Regions from separate parts of the Homo sapiens genome. Here all the other regions are linked to region 2. Evidence: promoter capture Hi-C in human tissues and cell types (Jung and others, 2019). All regions are on one chromosome and are shown on one strand. Each heading gives the region's core, a stretch centred on a gene start or on the middle of the fragment in contact. The rest is flanking DNA. Distances are from core to core; before and after follow the strand shown.

Region 1 (3,878 bases), core at 1,064-3,563, 290 kb before region 2:
GAATAGGACTAGAAAGTAATGAAACTGGGTTCATAAGCCACAGGTTATTGCAGCATTTTGTAGCCACTTTGACAGTAGTTGGCACTGCTTGCTGGTGATGGTGGGGGCTGGGAGTGTTGCTCTGTCTGTGTTCACAGACCCAGTCAATCCACACATTACCATTTGTCTTCTTCGCTCTGCGCTCATCTGCTCTTTCATCTTGCAGCTATTATTTTGAGCACCTACATACAGAAATATTCTGAGTGCTTTGGGGATCCAACTCAATTTTTAAAATTTTATATGAGGGAAAAAAAGTGGGTAAAATGTTAGCAGTAGTAAGAGCAATTAGCAATGAATGCTAATGTTAATTATTTTCTCTTCTCAACCCCCAATTTTTTTTTATTATACTTTTAGTTCTAGGGTACATGTGCACAGCGTGCAGGTTTGTTACATATGTATACATGCGCCATGTTGGTGTGCTGCACCCATTAACTCGTCATTTACATTAGGTATATCTCCTAATGCTATCTCTCCCCCTCCCCCCACCCCATGACAGGCCTTGGTGTGTGACGTTCCCCTTCCTCTGTCCGAGTGTTCTCATTGTTCAATTCCCACCTATGAGTGAGAACATGTGATGTTTGGTTTTTTGTCCTTGCGATAGTTTGCTAAGAATGATGGTTTCCAGCTTCATCCATGTTCCTACAAAGGACATGAACTCATCCTTTTTTATGGCTGCATAGTATTCCATGGTGTATATGTGCCACATTTTCTTAATCCAGTCTATCATTGATGGACATTTGGGTTGCTCAACCCCCAATTTTTTAAGAAAAGTTTTTTTCTGATAAAAGTTTCTAGGAAGCAAGCAACATTTTGAGTTCCAACTGCTTTAACATCAAAAGCACCCAAAATGAAACCAGAAAAAAAATGACAGTTGAGATCACTACACGTTTTTAAAAATATCTCCACAGAGCAAAATTATGAATATACAATTTTAACCTGAAAATTGGCCTGAAATGCATTTTTAGATTTGGATTGCAACAGTCCTAATGTCACATCAATAAAATATTGTAACTGCCAATGCTACCTACAGATTTGTTCACAATTTGAACTGCAGTAAAGGGATTTACGAGGGACAATATAAAAATGGTTATTTTATATTCCTACCTGTGTTTTTTTTTAAAGAGCAGGCTTTCTGTAGTGTTACCTGTTCTATTAATATATAAATTATTTGCTTTAATTCAAAGATATTGCCACTTTTATGTTTTCTGCTGTGACATTGAGGATCATTTTTCTACTAGTGGTTTGTCCTCATTTTCTAACCATCACAAAAATGAATTTGTTTTATATATGTATTGTAAGAGCCATATTGACCATTTGAGGGTCCTAGGTAGGTATAATAAGGATGTCACTTTAAAGAAGTTTAAATAATTTTTAAAATATGCTATAGTTTGGAAAAACATCTCAATTTGCATTGCAGTATCAGTCATTATTCTTGTAGCATAATTTTCTGGATGGAATCATCATTCCAATTAGGCCTTGTGAGTTGAATCTGTAGTCCAATTATGATTCTCAGGATACATTTCAGCAGAATTGCTTATCAGTTTTTATCCAGCTTATTTGAATGTGACATTTGAATTGTTTTTTCTGTGCTTCTCAGTTCAAATCCTGTGCTCAAGAATATGTGGCCTGAAGGCAAACTGAGCATTACAGAGGTGACCAAGCGACCTCTGACTGCTGCTACCTTGTTTAAGAATTCTATGATTGCTCTAGTAGACAACCTTGCATCAAAGGTAATTATTTTCTTTTCTAAATATCCATTTTAACTCATAGATTTCCTCTTGATGTATTATAAAGAATGTATGTATGATTTGCTTTTTAGGTAATCATGTAGATTGAAGAATATGTATAAAGTGAATGTTATAATAGAATTTTTATTCCTGCATTTTTAAAAATCTCACCTCAGTGGAACGATTGTTGGTGTCCTAGATTAGTATCTGTCTTGAATTTGAGCTTTTTATTCTACTGTCATGGTCAAGGGAAAAATCTTGGATTTGAAAAATATATAAGGCACAGCATGCCCAGCAAAAGGAACTTTAGCGCTGTGCTGAAAACAGGACCTGGCCAAAATAAATAAGTAAAGTCTTGAATTAAGTTGTAAAATGTACCATTTATATATTGTGTTTGAGTACAAAGTGGCCAGAGAGTTTTAAGAGGAAATTTAGGATGCAAGTATTGTCCTTAGGCTGTTTTAAATAATTGAAATATAAAGACGTATTGGCCTGGGTGTTGTGGCTTATGCCTGTAATCCCAGCACTTTGGGAGGCCAAGGCGGGAGGATCACTTGAGACCAGCCTGGACAATATAGTGAGACCTCCTTTCTGCAAAAAGTTAAAAAATTAGCCAGGCATGGTGGCATGCACCCACAGTCCCAGCTACTCAGGAGGCTGAGGCGGGAGGATCACTGGAGACCAGCCTGGGCAATATAATAAGACCTCCTCTACAAAAAGTTACAAAATTAGCCAGGCATGGTGGCACATGCCTGTGGTCCCAGGTACTCTGGAGGCTAAGGTGGGAGGATCGCTTGAGCCTGGGAGGCAGAGGTTGCAGTGAGCCAAGATCACACCACTACACTCCAGTCTGGGTGATAGAGCAGGACCTTGTCTCAAAAAAAAAAAAAAAAGTTGTATTATTGACAATTATTTGTGTTTTTTATTGTTTCTTTAAGGACTAATACTATTTGATAACTTTTGTCTGTTTTTTCCCTTAAAGAACATATTTCTACCCCTAACTGCTGCTGTTGGCAAGTTTGATAAATTAGGCAGCATTCTGAGCCATGTTATTTTTAGTTTCTTCATTTTTATCTTTCTCTTCTGGTGCTTCTCCTATGTAGTTTCTTCTTCGTTATCTTTTTTTAAAAAATCAACTTCCTCTCTAAGAATTTGAATCCATACTGTTTCTGGTTACTTCACTATAGATAAATTAGGCAAATGCCACAGGAACACATCTGTGCGGTCGCTTTCTATCTCCTTTTGTCAGGATTCTTTGGCCTCAAGTGACCGCATATAAGCACAATTTGTTGGCTTATATAATCAAACCTCCAGAAAGGCAGGGGTAAGGACACTGGCACTGGAGGCTGGAATGCCGTTAGGACTCTTCACTCTTGTATCTCAGCTTTTCTTTGCATGTCAACTGCAGCCTGCTTCATCCAGCAAGAAGAAAAGTGAACCTGGAAGGAAGACACAGGACACAAGAAACAGTTGAACACTGAATTTCATGAAAGACTTTTAAATATTCAGTTAACTACAGTTAGTCAATTAACTAGAAAAAGAATTGTTTTGTTTTCTAAACTTGGTAGTTAATGTGCCATGTAAAGAAATAAAAATTCCAGAACCTTCTATAATTTCTGTATCAGGAATTGCATTCACCTTCTAATGAAACAGATCCCTGAATTAGTAGCTTAAATAAGAGAGACATTTATTACTCTCTCCTATAAATGAAGTATAGAAGAAGGCATCCCAGGACTGGCATGGCAGCTCCAAAGTTATTAGAGACCCAAGTTCTTTCTGTCCTTCCGCTCTACCATCCTAGTGCTTGGCACCCAACCTCCTGGTCCATGATGGCAGCTGGAACTTCCTCCTTTTTAAAGAGACTTCCTGGAAGTTTGACACACTTTAGCTACACCCCATTTGCTATATAGAGTTGTCAGGGAAGCTGGGAAGGACATTTTCATTCTGGTCAGCAGTGCACTCAGCTAGCAATAAGAATTCTGTTTTAAAGTAAGAAAAAGATACTGGACATAAAGTAGGGAACTAGCCTAGCAATCTCTGCTACAGCTTCCCAATCCATGTGTGTATGGAGATCAGGGGAGAAGGGAGGGAGCAGAGATAAGCAGAAGAATA
Region 2 (4,107 bases), core at 1,307-3,806:
ATCCATGTGTAGCACTTACCTGCAGCTTGTCCAGTCTTTGCCAGGAGAGATCCCAGTTCCAGGATGCTCTGCTCTTTGACTTGCACTGCCTCTTCATCGTTTTCCTGAATGTCACGCTTCACTGGGAGAGGAAAATGCAAACCCTCTTAAAATTCTGACCAAAAAATGAAGACTGAGGGAAATTTCACCCTCATAAGATCCATTACAAACTCAAACATATTTACCAAAAGACAAATTCTAGAGTTAAAAAAAAAAAAAAAACTCTAAGCCAGGAAAAAAAAAAGATCATATATACGTAGAATATGCTCCATGTAAATCATAAAAAAAGGATTCTTCTCTTTGATTTTAAATGTGCCTTTTCATTCTACCCAGCAGAATTTTGCTTACCTACATACACTAAGTTTCTGTTGTGGTCACTTGGTTAAAGTGAAATTAAAACAAAACAAATCCTTCATACTTATGGTGCCAAGATCTGTTCCAGTCACTATTTTATGGGAAGATATTAAACATGCCTGTGCGTTTATGCCACAAACTAAAATCAATTGACCAAGTTACTGATGCCTGTAAGTCAAAAGCGTTTCAATAAACTTTAGGTCTGTGCAAAGCCTCAGCTGATGGGTGTGTTAGGGATAAGCAGGTCTATAAAGCCATTCAAGAAAAACAACTCTATCAAAGCCCCAGATCCTGCACAGCTACACTTAGGGGAGACTGCTGCTTTTTAATGCATTGAGGTCTGTTAAAATAACTTTGTGCTATCTGTCCTATTTTCAACAGTTAATAACTATTTTAACATTCAAACATGGAATAGCCTCTCCAAGTTTGTAGTGATCATCACTAGTTACTACTACTCTTACAAAGCATCATGACTTGACAAAAACCATGATGGAGTCCAGAAAAAGTAAGGCCGTCAACCACCATGACTCAAGCTTGCTCTAACAGTGAAGCTTTCAGGGAACTCTCCCCTAGAATAGTGGGCCAACAGGAAATACTCTAATTGTAATATTTGACGTAATTTCTACTTTATGAAAGAAAAAATATTAGACACTAGACACAGACTATTAAAATTCATGCTCCTCACATTAGTTCTAAATAATAGTGTGTACTCAGAATAAAATATCCATGTAACGGTGATTGAGATGACTCTGGTTCCGTAGAAGTAACTGACCTAAGATCAGAACTTTTAAAATGAAACACCTTTTACCAATATCATTCAAAGATACACCTTGACGCCCACTTCCTCTCCTTCTCTAGTATCCCCAATGATAAAGTATCAAGATCTTGTCATTGTCCTTTCTCCGTGCAGGTCTGGAATACCAAAATTCAACACACTAAGTCAAATGCCAACATCTTGCAAGTCCCACATACAGGTGCATTCTCATACTACTTGTTGAGCCAATTCAGATCTTCCCAAACTACACTACAAAGATGCCATTACATGTGCAGTGAAGAGCTAGTCCAAGCCCTAATTGAATCCTTTATGAGTGAACATTAACGTCTTCTTCTGTCGTAATAAATTTCTGTTCACACTTGAATCCCAACAGAAAGCTGCCGGAAGCGACTGGCTGGGATTCCCATTTCAGTTTTCCTGTTGTGTGTAGGTGTAAGACCATCGTTATTACAGCGTTAAGAAATTTTAATTTTTCCGGCAACATGCAGCCGACCCGTTCCAAAGAATTCCCTGAACTCCGCGGCTGACAACTAACTCCCTTAACTCACTTCCAACCCCTACAGGCAGTCTGGAAAGATTAGTCACCTCCTCTAGCCAGGCGGTCCCGCTCCAACACCTCACTCTTACACCCTACACAGAGCAGATGAGCGTCTCGGCCACCTCCACAAACCAAATGCCAATCTGAGGTGTGTGTCACCCCTGAATTTCCCACATTCTGAAAGAGACCCTCCTCTTAGTGGAGCTTTCTGCCGTGGGGCTGAGGAGTAGCAGCTCCCAGCGTCCCGTGGAAGGAAACTCCCAGAGAAGAGCAAGCGCTCGCGCTCCCACCCGGAGCAGGCTGTGCTGATTACAACGGCGGGAAATGCCTGTCCAGAGCTGGTTTCGCCAAGGCCTTTCAAGTAGAGACTCTAGGACCAGTCCGTGACAAGCACGCCGGCCGGCACTGCTCCGGGTCCCAGACCAGCTCGTGCGGGCCAGAGCCGGGGACATGGCTAGGGAGGGATCCCCGGGGGCCCGGCTCGGCCCACTCTCCCACCCTACGCTGAGCCCCCCGTGAGTCAGCAGCCGGCGAGGGGACCCGGGGATTGCCTCAAGCCCTCCCACAAGAGTGAGACCTGGGAGGCTCTGGGGAGCTCCGAGCGGCCTGCGCCCCCGGCCCGGCCCCCCTCACACAGTGAGTCAGCAGCATCAGAGCCGGCTAGCCGGGCCCCTCTCCGCTGCCGCCGACCGACATAAGCCGAGCTGGGCCGGCGGGGCCGGGGAGGCGGCGCGGCGACCTTTACCGATGGAGTGGAGGATGTCGATGGAGGCCTCCCGGTCGGTGCTGAGTAGAGACTGGGCTCTCTGGAACTCCACCACCGCCGCCGCCGCCATCTTACCGCTCTCACACCGTCCCCGGCCGCGGCCGCCGACGCCGGAAACACACACCCGGAAAGCCCGCCCTCGGGTCCCTCCGCCTGTAGCTCCCGTGGCTCCGTTCCCAGAGCACTCCGGGAGTTGTAGTCTCTCCGCCGGGCGCGGGCTGAGGGGTGGGGAGAGCGGGACCGCCTCGCAGGTGGGCTGCAAGCTCCCCAGCGCCTCCTAGCGGGCGGCCGGCGAGGAAAAGAGGCGGTGCCCCGCAGTGGGAGCTCTAGATCGGTCCCCGCCCACCCCAAAAGAGGCTTCTTGATTCCGGCCCCGCTCGCGCACCCCTGAGAGGGGTTCCTGAGTACTGGGCTAGGTATTGAGTCAAAGCTGCGTGGCTTTCTTTGCGGCTTCCACGATTTAACCATTCATTCGGGACGATAAGTGACCTTATAAAGTGCTCGCTATGTGGCAAAGAATAGCACCATTCGAATGCGTTCCAGTGTCTGACGCCTGTGCGCCGCACACACGCTTTCCAGGCTTGACTCCCGCAGAACGCTGGCCGGCAGGTGGGCAAACCCGCCAGGACCGGAGAAAACTGTCCTCACGCGCCCATTTAACCTTGGGACAGTGCTGGACGTGATGAAGTGAAACATCACCTTTGCTCCATTCACGCCACAAATACCTCTTGGGAATCCACAGAAGCCTCACCCAGCTCCCCAGCTCAAAGAAAAAAAAAAAAAAAGGAAGGAAGGAAGGGAGGGAGGGAGGGACGGAGGAAGGAAAAAATTGAATTATTCTTCCCAATATCTTCAGCCCCTTCAACTAAAGTCACAGATATCAGTGAAGACGTCGTGTGGACGGAAAAATGACATTCTATGAGACCACTTAGGGTTAAACTTAAGAAAGGTGCTAAAAGGATACAAAGACAATTCAGTATTAAGGAAGACCTTTCTCTAGGTGATGACGATCCAAAAATGGAATGTGCTGTCCCATAAAAGGAGGCAAAAAGGGGACTAACATTGCACACCCTCCTCTGTAAGTGGATTAGGCCATTTATATTCCTCTATCTCCTTTTATTCTCCCAACAATGTTCTGTAAAGCAGATATTTACTCCCCTTTAATATGTGAGGAAACAGGGGTTTGAGTTATTTGGTGAAGCTCAAATCGTGATTGGGAGAGATAAGAGCTGCCGGTTAGGGAATGCCTTCCTAATTCCTGGGTGTGTTCACGTGAAAAGTAGTTGACATCTCATCAGGTTGTTGTAAACAGGATTCATGACTTTGATGGAGAGTTGGATTAAATGGCTTCTAGCAAGGCGCGGTGGCTCATGCCTGTAATCCCAGCACTTTGGGAGGGCGAGGTGGGCATATCGCTTGAGCCCAGGAGTTTGAGACTAGCCTGGGCAACATAGACCCCCGACTCTACTAAAAATACAAAAATTATCCGGGCATGGTGGCGCACGCCTGTAGTCTCAGCTACTTGGGAGGCTGAGGTGGGAGGCTTTAGAAGAAATCATAGGAGAGGATAGAGTGCTGGCCTCACTACAAAGAGGGAGTACCATAAAACAGTGGACCCCAACATTTTTGGCACCA
Region 3 (3,895 bases), core at 122-2,621, 330 kb before region 2:
ATTCTTTTTAGCACCTGTATAGTATTTCATTATATTGGGAAACAAAAATTTATTTTTATCCCTATTGGTGGACATTAATTTGTTTGTTTTTTTTTTGATATTGCAAACAGTGCTGGAGTTAGCATCTTTGTATAAATATTTGTATGTGGTTTAGCAAAATCCAGTTTTTAAAAAATTCTAGTCTCTATAAGTTTTTATAATGACTTTCATTTATCTGTGTTAAAGAGTGAAGAATATGTTGCTTAAGTCCAACTGTGTTTTGGAAGCTTTTGGAAATGCCAAAACCAACCGTAATGACAACTCAAGCAGGTTTGGAAAATACATGGATATCAACTTTGACTTCAAGGGTGACCCTATTGGTGGGCATATCAATAACTACTTACTAGAAAAGGTAAAATATGCTTAATTTCTGAGGGTAATGTTTTAAGTGCTGAATGTTTAAACAAATTATATTTATAGAATTTATTTTATTGACTCAAAATAGCTTTAAATCCTATTCTCCCTTCTTCATTAGCTTTTTATGATAAGGTATTCTCCTTTTGTCTTCTCTTCTTAGCACTTACACTGTCAAGTTGGAAAAAGTTGTGGACTTTGTAGATAGATTTAGCTATGCGTGTGAATGGGTGGGGGCACAGGTATGAGTGTGTGCCAGCTTCTGGGTAAGGTTTAACCGAAAGTCAATCTAAGACTAATCAGTTCTAGCCTTTTTATACATCACCATCTTCTATACATTTTAATTTTAATTAATTTGATATCTCATTTTCTTCTAGTTTCTATTTGTTCATTGCTTTATAGTAACATATATGTATTTTGTGATCTTACATCCTAATTATGAAGCGAACTGTATTTGGTCAGTAAAAACTTAAAATAGGCCCAATTTCTAGAGGATTCCAATTAGAATTTTCTTCTTGGGACCACCAGAGAGGTTGTGTCTGGTTTGGTTTTGTGTTTTTTGAGACAGAGTCTCACTCTGTCATCCAGGCTGGAGTGCAGTAGCATGAACATGGCTCACTGCAGCCTCAACCCCCCAGGCTCAAGCAATCCTCCCACCTCAGCCTCCTGAGTAGCTGGGACCACAGGCATGGCCCACCATACCCAGCAATTTTTTTTTTATTTTGTAGAGATGGGGTCTCCCTGTGTTGCCCAGGCTGGTCTCAAACTCTTAGGCTCAAGCAGCCCTCCTGCTTCAGTCTCCCAAAGTGCTGGGATTACAGGCATGAGCTGCTGCACCCAGCTGGTTGTGTCTTAACTAATCTTGATTATCAGTGGACATGACTGCAAGAGAATACATAGAGTTCATTTTTACAGTTAAGCTTGTGCTTTATAAAATCAAGTCTCCACCTTGAATTCATACAGATCTAAGCCGACAGGTTTTCTCAGTTAAGGGTTTCCTATCCCAGTTAGGCCATAGCATCCTTTATGGCCATATAATGAAGTATAATCTTTATTTTTGTTTGTTATATTGAAGTCGGACTGTTAAGGAAATAAATGTATTATCAGAGTCAGTTGAAAAAGGACAGGAAATGCCAGGTATTATTATCAGTCCTTTTTCCAGAATGTTTCATCAGTTCACTTTATGTGTAATACATATTCAATCAAAAGGATCCTTTTGAATGAACTCATATTTTGAACCCTCTCCTAACAGCAGTATTTTTGGAACCATCTAAGGCAGAGGTCTCTATGGATTGATCTTGCTCAACTGACTTTTATTACAGGATATAAGGCATTGCTCTTTGAAATGCCAGCAGACCCTGGGGAAAGGAATGTTGAGAATATTCCTCCCTAAGCATTCCTTCCTATTCTCCCCACTTCTAATTCTTACCCCACCCCCAACCACCAAATTCCATCTTTAGGCTCCAGGTTAAAAAAATCAAAATAGCTTCATTCTTCAGAAAGTTTTAGGGACCTCTGTTTTAAGCAATAAAAAGAATTATCAAAGAATTGCAGGGGAAACCCCATAGAGAAGACTCATTCTTAGATGAGTATACAATCCATGGGGGTCTTTAGGATATTTAACTGATTTGGGAGAGGTCGGATAAAGAAAAAGGAGCATTAACCTTGACTATGCCTTTAGCTCCAGCCGCCTCTTTAAGAGGAAATTGTTGGGCAGGTGGGGGAAGGCTAGTCATGGAACGAAACTGTAAGCCAGATCGGGTGTGAGGAGGGGAGGTGATAAAAGGATTATAGGGTGGGAGAGCACAGGCTGAGGAAGAATTGGGACCTGGCTCAGCCTGGCAAGGCACAGCCTGGGGAGGAGGGGAGAGGTCCTGTAGAAAAGGAGGATTCAGAGGACTCAGAGCTTGGGGTGGAGACTAAAGGAACAGACAGGAGAGAAAGAAGAAAGATATGGGACAAGTCGCATTGGGAGCAGAGACTAGGGAGGGACCGATGTGTAAAAGAATGCCTGGACGTCAGGCATCTCAGATCATTTGCCCATTGTACGACAATAATTGTCTAGACCTTGTAGGATGGAGAAATTTAAAGTGCTGTTTTCTGGCTGTTTGGAACCATTGTTGAGTTTGTATTGGGGTCAAGTGGTATTGCAGAAGAAAATAAGGTGTTTAGGTTTTAGGTCAGGTGTGAGTTGAAGAGGTTTTAAGTTCTTGAGAACACAGGCTAAGGGAGAAGAAGGAGGAATGGAGGGTGGAAGGTTGACCATAGTGGAGGAGGCAAGCCCAGAGAAAAGAGAGGGTAGAGACATGGGCCGGGGTCGGGGGGTGGGGGTAGGGAGTGGGGTGGGGTTGGTACTTGCCACCCAGGAAAGTGGTGCTTGCCACCAAGGTGAAGGATCAAGGCAAGTGTCCCCACAGTGATCAGACACCAATGGAGTGTGGGTGAATAATCAGGCAGGCGTCCCTGCAGTGATTAAACACCAAGGGAAGACTGTCTTCCCGAATCCGTGACCGGTGCTGAAGTTTTGTGTTCACAGATAAAACACGTCTCCTCTGTCTCTACCAGAAAAGGAAAGGAACTGAAATTAAGGGAAGGGGGAGATTGAAGGGTGGCGCCGAAATTGAAAGGAGAAAGAGGTTGAGGGATAGTAAGAGAGGTTGGAGAAGAGAGTAAAAAGAGGCCGCTTACCTGATTTAAAATTGGTGAGATGTTCCTTGGGCTGGTTGGTCTGAGGACTTGAGGTCGTAAGTCAGTCTTTCTCACAGAGCAAAGAGCAGGAGGACAGGGGATTGATCTCCCAAGGGAGCTCCCCCGATCCAAGTCACGGCACCAAATGTCATTAGTTAAGGCAAGAATCTGCCATTTTCACTTCTTATGTGATTCTTCAGTTGCTTCAGGCCATCTGGATGTATACGTGCAGGCTTGGGCTCAGAGGCCTGACAGTTCCCTAAGAAAGTGGCTCCTGTTTTATTTTAGGGGCACATTTTCGGGTTAACCATTTTAATGTGTTTTTTCTTAGTCTCGAGTGATTGTGCAACAGCCAGGAGAAAGAAGCTTTCATTCTTTCTATCAGGTTAGTAATCCATTATACAGATAATTGATCATTTGCCCAGTTGTGCAGGAAATGAGTATTTGTGTCTTGGGCTTTCCCCTGTCCTATGCATCACTCATCTCCATTGGCCCCGTAACATGTCACGCATGCACGCACGCACGCACGCACCACATGCCCTGCCCTACCTGCTTAAGAGATTGGATGAACATGACTGTTCCACCCAGCTGGCAGGAGCTTAGCCAACCAGATGACTGCCTTGGGTGAGCATCCCCCATATTTTCTTGCAGTACAGATAACACTTTAATGACTGTGAAAGCTTTTGAAATGGTACATTCTAAATGTTAAATTAATTTTTGTTTTATTTTGAATTGAAGCTGTTGTTTCCATATTTGGGAGTTCTAGAGATCAGAATACAAATTCAGTTTGTTTCACTCATACACACTAAAAGCA

The links. The method cuts DNA at HindIII sites, captures the fragments that hold promoters and counts their contacts. A contact is called where the count stands out against the background at its distance.
Region 1: a fragment that was not itself captured here is called in contact with the fragment with the promoter of PSMD11 in region 2 in 2 of the 25 tissues and cell types used here (dorsolateral prefrontal cortex and hippocampus).
Region 3: a fragment that was not itself captured here is called in contact with the fragment with the promoter of PSMD11 in region 2 in 1 of the 25 tissues and cell types used here (dorsolateral prefrontal cortex).

The regions. Positions count from the first base shown.
Region 1 is chr17:32,736,144-32,740,021 of GRCh38, reverse strand. MYO1D (myosin ID) reads left to right here. Exons shown (of 22, transcript NM_015194.3): 14 at 1,637-1,769. Among named protein-coding and RNA genes, the nearest start is that of MYO1D-DT, 140 kb to the left of the region's middle. The HindIII fragment of the contact is 8,518 bases long and covers 1-3,878 here.
Region 2 is chr17:32,442,959-32,447,065 of GRCh38, reverse strand. PSMD11 (proteasome 26S subunit, non-ATPase 11) reads right to left here and starts at 2,556. Exons shown (of 14, transcript NM_002815.4): 1 at 2,452-2,556; 2 at 20-121. The coding sequence starts at 2,542. RefSeq lists enhancers at 2,467-2,546, 2,160-2,775 and a silencer at 2,667-2,836. The HindIII fragment of the contact is 9,367 bases long and covers 1-4,107 here.
Region 3 is chr17:32,772,360-32,776,254 of GRCh38, reverse strand. MYO1D (myosin ID) reads left to right here. Exons shown (of 22, transcript NM_015194.3): 4 at 226-391; 5 at 3,413-3,466. Among named protein-coding and RNA genes, the nearest start is that of MYO1D-DT, 100 kb to the left of the region's middle. The HindIII fragment of the contact is 4,466 bases long and covers 1-3,604 here.